2 separate regions of the Homo sapiens genome follow, and region 2 is linked to region 1. Evidence: promoter capture Hi-C in 16 types of primary human blood cells and fetal thymus (Javierre and others, 2016). All regions are on one chromosome and are shown on one strand. The core of a region is centred on a gene start or on the middle of the fragment in contact, and the rest is flanking DNA. Distances in the headings are between cores, read along the strand shown.

The links. The method cuts DNA at HindIII sites, captures the fragments that hold promoters and counts their contacts. A CHiCAGO score of 5 or more calls a contact.
Region 2: a contact is called between a fragment that was not itself captured here and the fragment with the promoter of RSPO2 in region 1, in 3 of 17 cell types (M2 macrophages, monocytes and M0 macrophages). The highest score is 6.4, in M2 macrophages.

The regions. Positions count from the first base shown.
Region 1 is chr8:108,082,301-108,084,962 of GRCh38, reverse strand. It overlaps RSPO2 (R-spondin 2), which reads left to right and starts at 1,343. Exons shown (of 6, transcript NM_178565.5): 1 at 1,343-1,766; 2 at 2,156-2,418. The coding sequence starts at 2,325. RefSeq lists a silencer at 2,312-2,487 and an enhancer at 2,204-2,662. The HindIII fragment of the contact is 4,613 bases long and covers 1-2,662 here.
Region 2 is chr8:108,212,810-108,215,471 of GRCh38, reverse strand. It overlaps EIF3E (eukaryotic translation initiation factor 3 subunit E), which reads left to right. Exons shown (of 13, transcript NM_001568.3): 10 at 756-865. Among named protein-coding and RNA genes, the nearest start is that of EIF3E, 35 kb to the left of the region's middle. The HindIII fragment of the contact is 5,072 bases long and covers 1-2,662 here.

The DNA.
Region 1 (2,662 bases), core at 94-2,593:
ATATCAAGTTATGCCAAACACTGGGGCCACTCCCTACACTGAAATGTTTCCAAATTCTGTGATAAAAATCAAAGGCTCAAAAGTCAAGAAACAGATCCACTGTTTCTGCAATGTGTTTTGTGAACTCTATTTGTGCCCTGTGGGCCAGTCTCAGTGATGGATTTTCTTATCTATGAAATGGGACCAATGACCTCAACTCAGATTTACTTGGGTGTTCTCAGGCATGCATCAAAGGCATACTGCTGAAATTCTTAGCACATAAATACCACTATGTAATAGTGAGTCTGTAAAATAGTTATGAATAGGCAATAATGGAATAGTTAATAAATATGAGTATTGCAATATTCTTTTTATATGATTGTCTTTTAAGTCATCAAATTTCTGAACATCTTCTGAAACTGAAGGAATAGAAAAGGGAATTTAAATAGTATAAAATGCTATCATAATAATATGGTAACTGCGGGCATATCTATAGACATTCATACTGCCACGGTTAGTGGCATAAATTCTTATCTTTTGCTTAAGGAATAAATACATTTTTTCCTACAGTAGTGAATGCAGGACAGATTTCACCAGAATGAAATTGGATGGCATCAAGTCTATTTAATGTAACACTTTGTTAAACAGAATATTTTCCCCAAACCCAAAGCACCTAAAAGTTTAATTCAGGAGACTTTGGAAATGAGAGGAGGATTAAGAATGAAAAATACTTTAGTGGGAAGTGAACTTTTTAAAATTATTTTTAAAGAATCAAGGCCCCAACTTCTTCAGCACTTCAGGCAACGGATCACAGGTTTTTGTTTTATTGGAGAAGAAACAAAGTAAATAACAGTTCTGAGGATGAACAAAAGCTGTTGGGAATACCCATTTCACTCCTCAAAGTGGGGGCGCGTTTTATGAATAATTTCAGCCGGCTAACATACCTTCCTGCAAAACACAGACAAGATGTAAATTAAAAAGTGGCAGAGTTGTGGCATATTGCAAAAGTTTAAAGGGAGTCATCAGTCCTTCAGTCAGATCTCCCTGCAGAAAGGTTGGCGCTGAGGTTGGAACTGACCCTAGAGGGCTGGAGAGGACCCCTTGGGGGTGAGCAGCCGGGTTCTGGGACCCAGCAAGGTCAGGGGGCGTCTCCCCAGCTACTCTTTATCTATCCCCCGCACTCTGGAAAGCCCGAAGAGGATTCGCTCCAAGTTAGGCGCGCTGTTGGCTGTCAACGTTCTTTAGGACCTCAGGGAAACCGGGACGTTTCTGGCTTTAGGACCCAGGAACTCCGAGGCAGCCTAGACTTAGATGCCTTGGACCACAGCACCACCTACTTATAGAAGCATCCCAAGCCTCAGCCGGTCTGCATCTCCATCGGAAAGTGCGCTTGCCACATCCCTTCGGATCACTTCGTCCTCCCGAGAGCGTTCTGCCTTCTACAGCTCGGAAAGAAAGAAATCTTAGCTGTGAAGTGACCGTGGAGAAAGCGCAGGAAGCGACACAATTGGTTAGGGAGGCAGAGAGTGTGAGCGGGCGCACCCCTTGCCTGGGGACCGCGCTCGCGGGCGGGGACGGAGCATCCCAGTGGCTGCACCCGCCGCTCCGCGCTCCTGCCTGGCGTCGCCAACCCCGCGGCGGCCGCTGGAATTCCAGAGCTGCCAGGCGCTCCCAGCCGGTCTCGGCAAACTTTTCCCCAGCCCACGTGCTAACCAAGCGGCTCGCTTCCCGAGCCCGGGATGGAGCACCGCGCCTAGGGAGGCCGCGCCGCCCGAGACGTGCGCACGGTAGGCAACCCACACCAAGGCAGCCGCAGCTGCGGCGCTTGGGTACACCGCCGTGGACTCCAAATGGCCTAAGAGCGTTCTTTTAGCCCTGCGCTCTCAGTGCCTTTAGAGTTCTTTCCTTTCCCCGGAGCGCCGGCACAACGCATTATGCCGCTGGGTCGGAGCTTAGGGCTCGGCAGAGGTTGCTAATTCACTGATTATAATCACCTTCCTCTCCAACTCGTCCGCAGCTGCCCGCTCTGGATTAAGCCGCTCCGCGGCTCGTGCTAGGCAGTGGGTTCGCTTCCTCCTTCCCTCTCTTCTTTAAATTGGGACGTGCGAAGGCGCAGCTGCCTCCCCGGGGCTCTCTCCATCCCCCACACACCCTGTTTTCGCTTCTTGTCTCTCAGGTTCGTGGCGGAGAGATGCTGATCGCGCTGAACTGACCGGTGCGGCCCGGGGGTGAGTGGCGAGTCTCCCTCTGAGTCCTCCCCAGCAGCGCGGCCGGCGCCGGCTCTTTGGGCGAACCCTCCAGTTCCTAGACTTTGAGAGGCGTCTCTCCCCCGCCCGACCGCCCAGATGCAGTTTCGCCTTTTCTCCTTTGCCCTCATCATTCTGAACTGCATGGATTACAGCCACTGCCAAGGCAACCGATGGAGACGCAGTAAGCGAGGTGGGTCCCTCTCTGCCAAAGGTGCGTGGTGGGCTTCAGGGGTGGCGTGTGGAGGCGCTCACTCACGCCCTGGCTCCGGGGGCTCAGATGGTCAGGGCTGTGCTCTCCACCCCAGCTTTTGCGGGTCCCCAGTCCCCACCTTTAGGACCCTGGAGCTCTACAAAACACTCTGTTTTCTGTACCCTGGAGGCGCGGGGAGCCGGAGCGAGACGCGCTGGGAGCTCGGCGAGCCGGGCGCCAATCG
Region 2 (2,662 bases), core at 74-2,573, 130 kb before region 1:
TAATTTTTTGTATTTTTAGTAGAGACAGGGTTTCACCATGTTAGCCAGGATGGTCTCGATCTCCTGATCTTGTGATCTGCCCACCTCGGCCTCCCAAAGTGCTGGGATTACAGGCGTCAGCCACCGCACCTGGCCTCCCTGATGATTTTCAAACATTAGATGGAATAGAAAATTAGAATCCAATATGGTAATTGGTGTTTTTTTTTGTAGTCATATATTGCATTATTAAGGTAAATATTGGCGTATATTCATTATGCTAAGTGTCTAGGTTTTGATGTTAAAAGACCTAGAGGGTACTTGGTTGCTGTTCTTGAAATTAAAATATTCTCTCTTAATTACACCATCTGTGGAATAGTAGCCACCTTTTGCATTCTTTTCCTTCTAATTTCTAAGTCTACTTAATATTGTAGAAATACTCCGAGCTTGTAGTCCATTTATAATTATTTTAAATAGTTGGAAGAGATAACATTATCTGCAGAGCATTTATGTAGAATAATGGATAGTACCAAACTTTGTTGTCAGAAGGCTACTTTATTAAAGTTATCAGAAACATTGCAGTTTTTAGGTCTTTATCTTGTGGTATTCGTTTACTACTTATTTAAATCATTAAAGATTTGAACACAGTGTTCTAGAAAGTGCTGTGGTATAAAACTCATGATTGTAGAATGGAAAAATAAAGCAGATAAAGTATTTGATTCACGTTTCAGGCAATTGCTTGTCAGCATCATTAATTTTTGTTGTATTTGTACATATAGGTGCTTGTGAATGACTTCTTCTTGGTGGCTTGTCTTGAGGATTTCATTGAAAATGCCCGTCTCTTCATATTTGAGACTTTCTGTCGCATCCACCAGTGTATCAGCATTAAGTAAGAACACCGTGATTTGATTTGGATTTTCTACTTTAAAATTCCTGGAAATTTCCATTTATTGTGAATTTACACTTAATAGAATTCCAGTTAATTGGATTTTTATTTATTTTTGCTTTCAGAAGAACAATGAAACAATTTGATAAAATTATTTAAAAACCTAACTTTTGCTACAGGCTCAGATAGTTTTAGCTTGAGTGGCATAATTTTTCAAAATACTAAGTTGAAGGCAATATATGATTATCAGTTACCTTATTGAAGAGTAAATACTCTTGTACCTTTACGTAAGGAGAAAAGTGTAGTAAACATTTCTAAAATGGTTTTCAACAACAGTACAAAGGAGATACCCATTAAATTGGAAATTCTGTTGAAAGACCACTACATTTGGTAATCCTTTCCATTTAGTTTGTATGATTTAATTACATATTTGACTTCTCCTATAGTAAACTCCTATGGCATCTTAAAATGTTGAAAGATGGAAAAATTATAGTGAATTTTAGTTGTAATTTCCTGTTTTGTCAGAAAATATTGGGAAAAAATTGTGAAATGTACATAACCTATTAGAAATAAATTGTACACATTACAGTTTGAAAAATGACTAGTGCCCTTTGGGCACAGAGGAAGTCAAACAAATGTTTAAAAACCTACTGCTTTAGTGTTTGCTTCTGAGGAATTGTGCATAAAACAAATTCTTTTTCTTTAATGCCATTTGTTTTTGCTTATCCATACTTCGCTTGCCTAATTTTAGTGGGCCGTCCGTTGAAGTGGTTGTCCAGAGTTAGAAGGATAGTATAATCATGGGATTTTTCCTATGGGAATTGAATCCTTGCCTTCACAGTTTTATTAGCACTTTACTGTAGCTTGCAGACAGAATTTTTTAAACCTGATTCTCTTACAAATTACATGAAAATTCCTAATAATGTAATTGGTTATGAAATAAAGAGGTAGGTACATCATATGTGGGGCTCCGGTGGATAGTAGTAACTGAATTCTTGCATTGTTCTTTGTTTTTAAGGTTTGTAATTAGGGCTTGTGAAAGAGGGATGTTAGTATTTTGGTTTCCCTTGTAGAATTTTCTCCATTTCTCATTAGAATGTGGTCATTTGGGTGCTTTTTGGTCCAGAACTGACTTAGCTACTACCGCTGTTGTGGGCCTTTTGAAAGCTGACCCTTTTTTTTGCATCTTTAGCACCTAACATACTAACTTTGTAGCACCTAATATGCTTTGTACAGTATAGTGTGAGTATACAATATAAATATTTGTTAAGTAAATTTCTTCTGTTATTAGTGAACTTGGCATTTTTGTCCATGATAATGCTTGTCTGCTTTGGTGTTTGCTTCCGAGGTACTATCAATAAGATTTGTTGTAGCTCTTTTCCTTTAACTCTGCAGCCATGTATTCATTATTTTCTTTCTTGGGATTTGGTTTATTATCTTTTAAGAGGAACATAGATTAAGTATGTGTTCTCCTTACTGAAGGGAGATGTGCAGCTCAAAGAAGTTAATAGAGTGGGAATGTTTCTATATACCTTTATGTGACACTACCTAAGAATTTTTCAGACTTTTCTCCGTGTAGATTTTTATTACTTCCTTGATCTCTGTAGTTTTCTGCTAGACAAAAATCTACAAAGCATTTTCAGACTAAAGTCCTAGTGGCTTTCCAGAGTCTAAAAATATTTTTTTTTCTAGTAGTAGCATTTTCTTTCACTTCAGTTCTTCAATTTTTTTTTCAATGTTTTACTAAGATGATTAAGAGTACATAGATCAATAATGTATGTTTTTCTTTTTCTTTCTTTT